2 separate regions of the Homo sapiens genome follow, and region 2 is linked to region 1. The links are contacts of gene promoters, found by promoter capture Hi-C in human tissues and cell types (Jung and others, 2019). All regions are on one chromosome and are shown on one strand. Each heading gives the region's core, a stretch centred on a gene start or on the middle of the fragment in contact. The rest is flanking DNA. Distances are from core to core; before and after follow the strand shown. Region 1 holds the start of AP3S2 (adaptor related protein complex 3 subunit sigma 2). Region 2 holds the start of PLIN1 (perilipin 1).

Region 1 (6,978 bases), core at 2,366-4,865:
TGCTAGACAAATTCTGAAACATCTGTAATGCTTGTAGGTAGTTGTTGTAACACTATGCCCACACATAATCACTTTCCATATTGCTGCATAGTCTTTGTAACCATTTTTCTTCTTCTTTTTTTTGAGATGGAGTTTTGCTCTTGTTGCCCAGGCTGGAGTGCAATGGCGCGATCTTGGCCCACTGCAACCTCTGCCTCCCGGGTTCAAGCTATTCTGCTGCCTTAGCCTCCCGAGTAGCTGGGATTACAGGCACACGCCACCACGCCCGGCTAGTTTTTGTATTTTTAGTAGAGACGGGGTTTCACCATGTCAGCCAGGCTTTTCTTGAACTTCTGATCTCAAGTGATCCTCACTCCTCAGCCTCCCAAATTGCTGGGATTACAGGCGTGAGCCACCACGCCCACCTGTAACCATTATTTTTAAGATTGCTACCATTGGATAGTTCTGTCATGGTCCAACTTTTGGATATTTAAAATTGATCCCTGTGTGGCTAACAGAATTAATGTTTCCAAAAATGTTGAAAATTATATAGTTCTCTTAATTCCCCACCTCTAACTATATTTTTGGGTTATTTCTTTAGGAACAGATGCCCAGGAGTCATATTACTGAGAATCTAGAAATCTTTTGCAAAGTTCTTGTTATATTGCCAAATTGCTTCCCAAAAGGGTTGTTCTAAACCATAATTTCACCAGCAATGTAGGGGAGAACCATTTTTATGCTGCCCTTGTGAGAATTGGGTATGAAAACATTTTTAAAATGATTTTTGATGAGGTGAAAATAATATTTGAATATATTTTAATTTGCCTTTCCCCCACTTATAGTGAGCTTAAACATTTTTTCCTTTTCCTAGCTGTATTTCTCCCTTTGTTATTCGTTCTTTCGTCCATTTATCTACTGGGGAGATGGGGAGTGTTATCTTTTTAGTTTATCAGTTATTTGCATTTTAAATATAACCATTTGCCATATTTTAACAACGATTTTTCCATTAAATAATTCTTTTTATAAAAAAACTTTATATATCTGTTGATGTTTTGTGATTTTTATTGCTTCTAAGCTAATACAGATTTTTGGATCTTATTCAATTTCGCTTTCTTCTGTTTAGGTTATTATCTGGTTTTATACCTAACTACTTATTTTCAAATTGCTAACCAGTTATCCTAATAGTATTTACTGAATTCCTTCCCACTCCTACATCACATATTAAAATTATTTTATGCCTAAATTATTTATAATATTTCAGTTATTCTTCCTATAATTACAATTTGAACCATCAAAGTAGGTTTTCATAGTTGGCAGAGCTAGTTCTTCTTCATAATTCTGTTTCAGAATTTTCTTTGATATTCTTCCTCAACATTTTAAACATTTTGTCAAGTTTCAGTGCAACTGACTTTTGGTTTTTATTTATTTAAAAACTGGGCCATGCCGGGCGCAGTGGCTCACGCCTGTAATCCCAGCACTTCGGGAGACTGAGATGGGTGAATCACTTGAGGTCAGGAGTTTGAGACCAGACTGGCCAATGTGGTGAAACCCCATCTCTACTAAAAATACAAAAATTTGCTGGGCATGGTGGCATGTGCCTGTAATCCCAGCTACTGGGGAGGCTGAAGCAGGAGAATTGTTTGAACCCGGGAGACGGAGGTTGCAGTGAGCCAAGATTGTGCCACTGCACTCCAGCCTGGGCAACAGAGTGAGACTCCATCTCAAACAAACAAACAAACAAACAAACAAAAAACTGGACTAGGCGTGGTGGCGGTTTGGGAGACTGAGGCTGGAGGATTGCCTGAGGCCAGCAGTTTGAGGTTACAGTGAGGTATGACTGTGCCACTGCACTCCAACCTGGGTAAGACCCTATCTCTGAAAAACAAACAAGCAAACCCCAGAACTCTGGCTGCAAAAGTAGTACATATTTCTTTGAAGGAAAAAAAGGAAAACTTGATAATCCTACCACCCAAAGATGTTTTTAAATCACTTATGTGGTACTCAGTTATGTGCCATGCACTGTCCAAGTGCTTACAAATATTATACTAACTCCCTTTGTGTTTATAACAACTGTCTGAAGTCAGTAGACTCATTTTCCAGTTTTCCAGTTTAGGAAACTGATATTACACCTTTTCTACAGATGGGGAAACTTGCCCAGGGTGCCCAGGCAGTCCGCAGAACCATGCTTTGAATCAGGGCAGTGTGGTTCCAGGGTCCTGTACAGATCAAACACCCTGACTCTGCCATTCCATCAGATACATGATTCATATTTTGGTGTATTTGCCTCCAATCTTGAGCAAAGTGGGTTGTCCCTGTACATACTTTGTGTAATCTTTTAGCTTAACAGGTGTCATGAACACTTCCGTATCATAAATCTTTCCCAGCATGATTTTTATTATCTATTTAATATTTCTCATATTCAATGTAGAACAATGCACTTAACCAATTTCTCATTTTTGTAATAATTTTCTTCCCATTTTCCCCTGTAATAACACTGCTGAGATATATATTTTTTTCTTCTTTTTTTTACTGTTCTGAAGATACTCTGGCAGAAATGTATGTTCCTCAGGCTAAATCTTTTCACACATCCACAATCATTTTATCATAAATTCTAGAGCTGGAAACGCTGAGTCTAATGTTTTATATATATATATATATATGTTATATATCTGTCACCCAGGCTGGAGTGCAGTGTGGTGTGATCTCAGCTCACTGCAACCTCCGCCTCCCGGGTTCAAGCCATTCTCCTGCCTCAGTCTCCCAAGTATCTGGGACTACAGGCGCGCGCCACCACAACCGGCTAATTTTTGTAATTTTAGTAGAGGCGGGGTTTCACCTTGTTGGCCAGGCTGGTCTCGAACTGCTGACCTCAAGTGAGCCGCCCGCCTCGGCCTCCCAAAGTGCTGGGATTACAGGCGTGAGCCACCGCGCCCGGACTGTTATATATTTTAAAGGCTTCTGATCCATATCGCCAAACAGTCCTCTGGATCGATTTGCATCTGTATCCGCTGCTCCATCTGCAGTATACGGACATGCTCCACTTCACCCACACTGGGTCATTAAAAGAACAAACAAAAATAAGAACTTGATCGATTTGGGATTTTAAATGGAAATGCACTAAAAATTCCTTAATTCCACCATTCACCGTCTACCATAGAGGAACAGCCCATCTGCACGGAGAGACAGCTACGTAATTCACTGCAGCATTATAATACTGAAAAATTAAAATGAACGAAATGTTCCATAACCGACGAACGGCCGAATGACCGGCGTCTCCACTCCGCGGAACGTTCTGCGAGCGCTAAGGGGATGGCGGGAGTGCATGATTTGGAGCGGGCGGTGAGAAAAGCAAGCTCCCGCCGCCTCTCCGTTTTGGCAACCCGGCTGACGGTCGTTTCGGCTTCTGGGGCCAGCCGTCGGTCTGGGCGAGGGACATAGATCCGGATTCGCATCCTGACTGGCCAACCAACGCTGGCCGAGGTGACCACTCTCCTCGGCATCCGCACCTGCCCTCCAAGGCGTCAGAGAGGCCGGACCCTTGGGTGCTAGGGCTCGTGAGCGCCGGGGCCAAGTTTCCGAGTGCCGCTCTCAGCAGCGCACCAACCGGAAGTGATCGTGTTGTGGCGGAAGGAGGAGCTTTCTGGGAGTAGCCGGTGCTGAGAGAACCGTGGCTGGCAAAGATGATTCAGGCGATTCTGGTTTTCAACAACCATGGGAAGCCACGGCTAGTCCGCTTCTACCAGCGTTTCGTGAGTGCGGCCCGGCTTCACCACGCCCCTTCAGGGCGCCCACTATGTCTTCCCTCCTCTTTGGCCTCTCGGCGCCCGGGGGCACCGCTCTTTGGTCACCTGGGGCTCCTGCACCGAGCATGACCCTCGCCCTACTTAAGCATTTAATCTAGGCGCAGGCTGGTGCCAGGCCTTCTGTCTCCCGCCCTACTGCCCCGCTCTCGCTGACCCTTTTCTTGATCCTGGCATTTCTGTGCCATTTTGTGACATTTTCCCGTGGGTCTCTGGGAACGAGATAGAAGCGACAGTGGGGAGTGTGCCTCGATGAGAACTTGAGTGATTGAAGTCACATTCTGTCATCTTTTTGGTTGTTGACCACAGTTTCATGAGGAAGAAATATTAAGTTTCTGAAAGTTTTTGTTATAGCCAGAACTGGAAAAGTTCTTTTTTTTTTGGAATTATTTTGCTTCAGTGTTGGCTGGGACTTTCCAGAGACTAGATACCCTTCACTCTTAGGGTTGAAGAAAATCAGTTTAAAAGTGGAAAAATGATGAGAAATTATAAATGCTGCCGCATAAGGGCTCAATAAGTGATTACGTAAATTTGAATTTTCCCAACACGTTCCTTTGCAAACACATAAACATCAGTATTTGCTTCCTGTCTTCGAAGATTATATTTCTTCATGGCAGGGTTTCAAAATGTTACATAATTGGGGGACTGGTGGAACTGAAGAGGGGAAAGAGCCAGAAAACGTGTTCAGGCTTCAGCTCCACCTTTTCTACTCTTGCGTCTGTTGACAAGTTAATAAACCCTTTTCAGACTTTTATTGTCTTTTGTCAATTAGAAATGAAAAAATAATTTTACTCCTTCATAAGATTTTTAAAGCTAGATTACATTTTATTAAGTAGATTACATCGAGGTAAAAATATGAGTATTCAGGCCGGGCGCGGTGGCTCACGCCTGTAATCCCAGCACTTTGGGAGGCCGAGGCGGGCGGATCACGAGGTCAGGAGATGGAGACCATCCTGGCTAACACGGTGAAACCCCGTCTCTACTAAAAATACAAAAAATTAGCCAAGCGCGGTGGCGGGCACCTCCAAGTCCCAGCTACTCAGGAGGCTGAGGCAGGAGAATGGCGTGAGCCCGGGAGGCGGAGCTTGCAGTGAGCCAAGATAGCGCCACTGCACTCCAGCCTGGGCGAAAGAGCGAGACTCCATCACACACACACACAAAAAAGTATATATATATATGTATGTATATGAGTATTCAGCGTAACTATTTGTATTTGCATTTGTGTGTATGCAAATTTCCCCCCTAGTTTTTTTCTAACAGGGTTACTGAGATAAAACTAACATGCCATACTGTTTACTTATTTATTTTATGTTATTTACTTATAGAGACGGGGTCTTTCTATGTTGCCCAGGCTGGTCTTGAACTCCTGGGCTCAAGCAATCCACCGGACTCAGCCTCCCAAAGTGCTGGGATTACAGGCATGAGCCACTGTGTCCGGCCCCAGTTTACTTATTTAAAGGGGACAATTCAGTGTTTTTTAGCATGTTCACAGAAGCTGTGTAACCATCACCACAATCAATTTTAGATCATTTTCATCACCCCAAAAAGAAACCTCTGCCCATTAGCAGTCACTCCCTATTTCTCCATGACTCTCCCAGCCCCAGAGAGTTTCTTTCCCTCTAAATTTGCCAGTTCCAGAATGGCAAATGGAATTTGCCTATTCCGTTGCCTATAAATGGAATCATAAATAAGTGGTTTTTTGTGTGTCTGCCATGTTTCATGTAGTATAATGTTTTCAAGATTCATCCATGTTGTAGCATGTATCTGATGTTCTTCATTTCTTTTATTGCTGAATAATATTCCATTATATGGATATGCCATATTTTGATTGTCAATTTATAAGTTGATATTTCTGCTTTTTGGCTCTTCTAATTAATGCTGCTATGAACATTCTTGTGCAAGTTTTTATGTGGACTTATGACTTCATTTCTCTTGGTTATATACCTAGGAGTAGAATTGCTGGATCATATGGTAACTGTGGTGAACATTTTGAGAAACTGCAAACTATTTGACAAATTTTCCAAGTGGCTGCACCATTTTACATTTCCATCAGCAATGTATAATGATTCCAGTTTCTTCACATCCCTGCCATTCGTTATTTATTTATTTATTTTTGGTTAAAGACATTTTAGTGGGTGTAAAGTGGTATCTCACTGTGGCTTTTTTTTTTCCCTCCGAGACTGAATCTCACTCTATCTCCCAGGCTGCAGTGGCGTGATCTCGGTTCACTGTAACCTCTGCCTCCCGGGTTCAAGTGATTCTCCTGCCTCAGTCTCCTGAGTAGCTAGGATTACAGGTGCCCACGACCATGCCTGGCTAATTTTTGTATTTTTAGTAGAGATGGGGTTTCGCTGTGTTGGCCAGGCTGGTCTCGAACTCCTGACCACAAGTAATCTGCCCGTCTTGGCCTCCCAAAGTGCAGGGATTACAGGCGTGAGCCACCGCACCCAGCTCATTGTGGTTTTGATTTCAGTTTCCAAAATGACTAATGATGTTGAGCATCTTTTCATGTGCTTATTGCCCATTCGTGTATCTTTGGATCATAGGATTTTTATAAGACCTCATGAGCTCATGGATGAAAGTACCTTGAAAACTACAGAGTACTAAAAAGATATGAGGGGTTATTAAAATCACTGAGGCATGTAAGCAATTGGTAGTTTACCTTTTTATTGAACTAGAAATTAGGTAGCCTCATCATTTCGTACCACTTCCCCACTGCTGCCACTTCCCCCAGAGTCAGATAAAAGGCTTTAGTTCAAAAGATGTCTTTGTCAGTTTTAAAAAGTGCTGATGCTTAGCATGTTTTGTATTTTGCATATATAGAGTTCGTCTCCTACAGCATCCTGTCATCTGTGAGCTTTGTTTGTTCTTTAAATGGAAATGAGGAAAATAGTGATTAATTTACTCAAATTTGTAGTGACCAATGATTAGCAAGTTTTCATTCAGTCAGTAAATACTGTGAGCCATTCCATACCCATGTGAGTCAAAGTAATTTCCCCACAATTACGTTTTCCCTTTTTTCCCCTCTCTGTTTCTTTTAAATAACCATTTCAAAGCTAAATTCAGGGCTATAGAAAGAAAGGGATTAAAATTACTTGAACCTATTTTCTAACTCTTGGGGCAAGTCCAATTTGAAGGTTTTCTTATGATTCGTTACTCAAAGTGTGGTCCCCAGACCAGCAGAAATGTTATTGCCTGG
Region 2 (6,615 bases), core at 2,506-5,005, 210 kb after region 1:
CTCTTATGTGCATAGTGGGAGCTTAGTATTTGCTGAATGAATAAAAATTGAAAGGAAAAAATTTAAAAAGACCCAATCGCACTGATCATTGAACACCAGTATACAATAACTTTAGGGTCATATGGATCATTGGTTTCACGATTACAGTAGGTCTGGTGCATGGCACTCTCAGATCTAGTAGAGGCTCTGATGTCAGTAGCAGGATGGAGGAGAGCTGGGCTTACAGCCTCTCAACTTGTTGGCCCTTATACCATCACTGCACTCATGTCCTTGCTCTGTGCAGAAGTAGAATCAGAAAAGCATCAGGCACCTTCATGGTATAAATTGTGTCTATGGGTGCAGTGAATAAGCAAAAATCAGAAGCAGACCGGAGGGACTTATAAAAATAGGTACAGGGTCACAATGGGTGCCTATATGTAGCCTGTGACAGATAAGAAGCTGACAGTGAGACAAACAAAAAACTGAGGCTAGAGCCTCATTCCTCTGACTCCTAATCCAGTGTTCTCTCCATGCTCTCCCACTGTCTTCAGAATTGAGTAGAAATGTGATCCCCTCCTGAATCCTGTTTTTTGCCTCTTACTCTCCCATAATTTGGAAATTTCCTTGTCCAGTGGTTTATATTCTTTTCTAGAAAAACTAAAACTGGGTGGAGTGTGGTGGCTCACACCTATAATCCCAGCACTTTGGGAGGCTGAAGCGGAAGGATTGCTTGAGGCCAGGAGTTCAAGACCAGCCTGGGCAATGTAGTGAGACTCCTTCTCTACAACAAAGTGTTAAAAAATTAGCCAGGCATGGTGGAGTATGCCTGTAGTCCCAGATACTCTGGAGGCTGAAGCAGGAGGATCACTTGAGCCCAGGAGTTCAAGGCTGCAGTGAGCTTCCACCGCACTCCAGCCCGGGTGATAGAGCAAGACCCTGTGTCTTAAAAAAAAATTAAGACAGTATTTAGACTTATCAGTTAGATTGTTTTATTTAAATCCTTCTAACAATTTAGGCAATTCTACATTAATTTTCATCAAAATTTATCCAGTCAAAAAAATTTCATGAATACTCCAGATGTAAGAGAGTCACAATTTTCTACGATAAATCAGACATCTTATTTCTAGGGTGATTGAGGGAGGTGGAAAGCGCAGGAGGAAGCCAGTGAAGAGGACAATGGAATGCTGAGTCAATGACATTGACTTGTGTTCCTATCTGCCATCTTGGGTGTGGGTCTTTATATGTGGTTACAGATCCTTTAGTTTGAGGGAGGTGAGGTAGAGAAATAGGATGCCAGCAGGTAGGAGGCCGATGTCAGTCCTCCCAGCAAAGCTGTGTCATTTATCTGAATGGAAATGAGAAAATAAATATGTACTCAATAAGTCACATTTCCCAGAAATGTGATTGAGATTCTCAAAAAATAGACTCAGATTCTTGGCTGTCTGTTTAACCAATCACGATATGGGATTTGAGAAATAAAATTTAGGGAATTTTAAGAGACATGAAAGCTACTAGGTCAGGGAAAATAAAAAGCTTAAATAACTATTTTTATTGTCCAGATCCTCTACTGTAATAGATTAACTATGTTCAATAAATTTCTAGACAAAATTGACTTGTGTCTGTGAGTGTGTTCTGGGAAGAGAGAAGAGTTAAACATAAGGCAATCCATCAGATAATCCTCAATCAGCCTACACAGTTGGTACAGCGAGCTCTGGGCTAGAAGATCCAGGCTGAGGAGGAGGATGGAGAAAGATTGAGATGTAGAGCCTCTGGGTTGAGAGGGACCTCTGAAATGAACTCATCTAGACTGCTGCCATGGAGATGGTGCTCTACAGTAGCCCTGTCAATCGCTGGCTGGCTTCTGCCTAGGTAAGTCTGCCTTGAATTCATGGTGGTATGTTATGTTACAGTGGTATCCATCTTGGTACTTTTGTCCTCTGCAATGGTGAGTGGTGGGGAGTTTGGGAAATACTACCTCTTCTAAGAGGTTTGTGTAAACCTTAATGGTGTCCTGGTACCACCCTGTGAATCCTTCTTTGTAACTAATGTTTTCCACCCCAGAGCCTCCACATTCATGAGGGATGCCAAAAATCGAAGAAGTTCTTCGTAGATGTACAGCCCAGCACATTCACAACTGAGCATTGTTGCCTGACAATTCATTTATTCAACAATGAATGTTTGAGTGCCATGCATGGTTTTGGGTATCCACTTGTGAGCAAGATGACCTAGGTCCCTGCTCTCACTTGGTGGAGGGGTAGGGAAAGCAGGTAGGTACGGAGAAGGAAAGAAGATAGAACTCTATGCCCTGCAAGCTACTGCTAGAAAACTAACACTTCTGTCTTCCCTCGGGACTCTCCTAGGCCCTTTCACCACTTCTCACCTCTCACCCACATTCTGCACTCCCAGCTAAAGCAGCCAAAGGACTATTTGATTTGGCAGAGCTTTCAGGCACAAAGCCCTATGTTCCCTCTGGCCCAAAGCCACTACTCTGAAGGCTGAAAACTGCCCTTTGGCTCAGGTTGCTGTCCAGTCACAGCCTCACAGATAATTTGTGCTGAACCTTGAGGTGAGGGCAGAGGCCACTTCTTTAAATACTTTGTCTTCTCTACTGCCTTACATTTGAAAAGCACAGGTTGGATCAATAAGTATTAAACGTATAGCGTATTACTCCTTTGAAGCCTCCCTGCTTGACTCCTCCCTTTCCTGCCTTCTCATTCCCTACTTTATTGCATCACAGATACGTAATTTATTACCAAGGATCTTTCATAATTCCCCACCCCTGCCTCTTTCTTCTCTTGCCCACACTGTGTGACTTAACAGAGTCAACAATACATATAATTCCACCAGCAACAAAGAAAATAAGTTTTGTTTTCCTATTGTCTGTTTTCATGAAGAGGCCCTTCTTAGTTAATCTGAAAGCTATGGCTTATACCATAGTCCTCCATCATATCTAAAGCCAGGAACTAGAACTTGGGCTTGTGCTTGAGTCCTGGGTAAAGAAGGGTTGAGTGGTGCTAATTCTTGGCTGTCTGGGTGCTCTTGATTAGTGATAGAATCCTAGTCAACACTGTCGCTTATCCAGACCCAGGAGAATAAAAATCTACTTGGCTCTCCTACTCTTCATTCTGGTAGCATCTTAGGCCAGGTAAAGTTCAATAAATTTTTTTGAATTCTAAGAAGTGGGAATTCCTCCCTCAACTCAAAGGCTATATTGTCAAAAACTCAACTCCCGGCTCTGTCGCTTCTTCACTGAGGGCAATTTATCTCCATAATCAAAGATGAATACATTCAGATGAACTCTTCTGTGTGGGTTTAAATTTTACTGTTCAGCATTCAGTCTTGCTAGTAAATAAGAAAAGATGAGAGAAATGGATTGAAAACTCCCACAAGACCCTCTATGGAAAAGGAGCCAAAAGATTGCAGAGGTATATAGAACTTTAGAGCTTTTGAGTTTAATGATGTCTATCCCTATACCTTCTTTCTGGAAAGCAGATTTTTGTGAATTGAGGGCAGGAACATTACAGAACTGATGCTTCATGGCTCTGGAATACTAAGTCCTCTGAGCCTGGATCTCCTTCAGCTCTGCCACCTACCTCCTTGTTTGCTAAATGTCCTTAGAGAAGTTAGGATATGCCTGGGGAACCCTGGGTCATATAACCATGACAACTGGCTGACCCTGTTGTCTCTCCCTCTCTGCCCTCCTCTAGCTGGGAGGTGGAAGCAGCATTGCCCAAGCCTCCCAGGAGTGACAGGAATTGTTTCTGCCTGAGGAGACACTCTGCAGCCTGGGCTCTGTGAGACTGAGGTGGCGGTCAGCCGGAGTGAGTGTTGGGGTCCTGGGGCACCTGCCTTACATGGCTTGTTTATGAACATTAAAGGGAAGAAGTTGAAGGTAAGGGCCTCTTGGGGATTTTGCTGGGGATGAAAAACTCTGCAGGGAAACTACTGAGGGAGAGATTCTGGTATAGATACCAGAATCTAGAAATAGAGGAATTGGATAGGCACAGTGGATCATGCCTTTAATCCCAGCACTGCAGGTGGCCAAGGCAGGTGGATCACTTGAGCCCAGGAGTTCAAGAACAACCTGGGCAACACAGTGGGATCCTGTCTCTATAAAAAAAGAGAAAAAATTAGCCCTGCATTGTGGTGCATGCCTGTAGTCCCAGCTACATGAGAGGCTGAGGTGGGAGGGTACCTTGATCCCAGGAGGTCAAGGCTGCATTGAGCCATGATCGTGCCACCACATTCCATCCTGGGCAACAGATTGAGACCCTGTCTCAAAAAACAGATAGGGAGAGGGGGAGAGGGACAGACAGAGAGAAAGAGAGAAATAGAGGAATTAACCCAGAGCCTTTTCAAAGATGAAACCTTTAACTTGTTTATTTATTTTTTTAGAGATGGGCATCTCACTGTATTGCCGAGGCTGATCTCAAACTCCTGGGCTCAAGCAATTCTCCCATGTCAGCCTCAGTAGCTGGGATTACAGGTGCTTGCCAGTGCACCCAGCTTGAAACTTCTTGTTTTAGTCTCTTTTGGACCCTCATTTAAGAGCCTTAAGATTTTATCTAAAACTTTTTATCTCTTATGGCTACCTGCATTTTTTATTTCCTAACCTGAACTCCTTTTTTTTTTTGAGACAGAGTCTCCCTCTGTCACCCAGGCTGGAGTGCAGTGGCAGGATCTCAGCTCACTGCAACCTCCACCTCTCAGGCTCAAGCGATCCTCCTGCCTCAGCCTCCCAAGTAGCTGGGATTACAGCTGCCCACCACCACGTCTGGCTAATTTTTGTATTTTTAGCAGAGACGGAGTTTCACCATGTTGCCCAGGCTGGTCTTGAACTCCTGAACTCAGGTGATCTGCCTGCCTTGGACTCCCAAAGTGCCGGGATTACAGGCCTGAGCCACCGCGCCTGGCCTCTTAACCTGAACTCTTATAGGAAACATTATTCTTGGCCGGGCATGGTGGCTCTTGCCTGTAATCACAGCACTTTGGGAGGCCAAGGTGGGCAGATCACTTGAGGCCAGGAGTTCGAGACCAGCCTGGCCAACATGATGAAACCCCATCTCTACTAAAAATACAAAAATTAGCCAGTGTGGTGGTTCATGCCTGTAATCCCAGCACTTTGGGAGGTCTAGGCAGGTGGATCACTTGAGGTCAGGAGTTCGACACCAGCCTAGCCAACATGGTGAAACCCCATCTCTACTAAACAGAAAAAAAAAAAAAAACTAGCCGGGCGTGGTGGTGGGCGCCTGTAATCCCAGCTACTTGGGAGGCTGAGGCAGGAGAATCCCTTGAACCCGGGAGGCGGAGGTTGTAGTGAGCCGAGATTGTGCAACTACACTCCAGCCTGGGCAACAGAGCAAGAATCCATCTCAAAAAAAAAAAAAAAGAAAGAAAGAAAAGAAAAAGAAAGAAACATCAGTCTTGACAAGTAAGCTATGGAGCAACTCATTGCTATGGGACCCTAAGGAGTGGGGCTATTGTGTGTGATATTCACCCTCCAACCTAATGCCTTCTGTTCAGGGCAAATGGGCCCCCAGGCAGCCTGGGCCTAGTTGGTGGCCATGAGAGGTAGGGAAGTGACCCAGTGGAGCTCAAGCCTGAGGGCTTCTGATGGGACCTGGGACTCTGTTTTGCAGCTTGAGGAGCGAGGATGGCAGTCAACAAAGGCCTCACCTTGCTGGATGGAGACCTCCCTGTAAGTAACTTGGGCTCATCTGTGACAGGGGATGGACAACTGAGGGAGGAGGAAGAAGCAGGGAGGGGAGATGCAGGGGACTTAGAGCAAGATATTCCCAGATTATAATCCTAGTTCATTGACTACCATGGCTTAGTTATTCTTGCCCTCACCACCTTTTGTAGGGGGCAGTTGGAGGATCTGGGAGGGGAAAAAAAGATGCCTATTAAAAATTAAGCACCTTGAAAAAAAGGGACAGAAATCCTGGCTTAGGGACGGGGGGAGTGGAGAGGAAGGAAACTACTGTTTAAACCCTGACGCAGAAGCCCATGCTCTGTCCACCACCCAGCTGGATGTGCATTCAGTGCAGAGCCACTGTATTCTGTGTCTCCAGCATCATTCATAACGGCAAATGTCACCTGTCGGAGTTAGACGGTGCACAGCCTGTGCTGCTGTGTGGGGGGAAGGGTGGGATATTCCATGTGTCTGGTGTTCTATCTCTGACCTGGTTTTCACTGTGACTTGAAGTGATTTGATACTTTTAGGGATGCTTGATGGCTCCTGGCAAGGCATCTCAGATTTGGGCACAGTTCGGATAGTGAAACTTAAAAATTATGAACCTGTGCAATATCCACCTTGCCCAAGTTACGCTTTTACTAACTCCTGCACTAGGAATCACTTTGTTTTGTATTGAATCATAGAACAGAGAGAGGCGTAAAATGGTCAAGTACATGGTTAAGCCATTCTAACAGACGGTGGTTTATTCCCTTCCCAGGATCTCTTTCCTCCTTCGGTTTTGTGTAAAACAACCTCTGAAGCCTCGTCCAAAATGTTAAAAAGAATGTTTTCTTGTTTATAGTCATAGTCTATTTCTAGTTCAAATTTCAAATTCACCTGCAGGATAAAAAACTAAGATATTGGCCAGGTGCAGTGGCTCACGCCTGTAATCCCAGCACTTT

The links. The method cuts DNA at HindIII sites, captures the fragments that hold promoters and counts their contacts. A contact is called where the count stands out against the background at its distance.
Region 2: a contact is called between the fragment with the promoter of PLIN1 here and the fragment with the promoter of AP3S2 in region 1, in 8 of the 25 tissues and cell types used here (adrenal gland, bladder, heart left ventricle and 5 more).

Annotation. Positions count from the first base shown.
Region 1 is chr15:89,890,631-89,897,608 of GRCh38, reverse strand. AP3S2 (adaptor related protein complex 3 subunit sigma 2) reads left to right here and starts at 3,615. Exons shown (of 6, transcript NM_005829.5): 1 at 3,615-3,728. The coding sequence starts at 3,660. All of the region lies in intron 5 of ARPIN-AP3S2 (ARPIN-AP3S2 readthrough), which reads left to right. It overlaps ARPIN (actin related protein 2/3 complex inhibitor), which reads left to right. Exons shown (of 6, transcript NM_182616.4): 6 at 1-2,603. It also overlaps the pseudogene RNU7-111P. RefSeq lists enhancers at 2,333-3,080, 3,435-3,584, 4,577-5,326. The HindIII fragment of the contact is 43,728 bases long and covers 1-6,978 here.
Region 2 is chr15:89,676,507-89,683,121 of GRCh38, reverse strand. PLIN1 (perilipin 1) reads left to right here and starts at 3,755. Exons shown (of 9, transcript NM_002666.5): 1 at 3,755-3,871; 2 at 5,619-5,677. The coding sequence starts at 5,633. It overlaps PEX11A (peroxisomal biogenesis factor 11 alpha), which reads left to right. Exons shown (of 3, transcript NM_003847.3): 3 at 1-1,587. The HindIII fragment of the contact is 12,360 bases long and covers 1-6,615 here.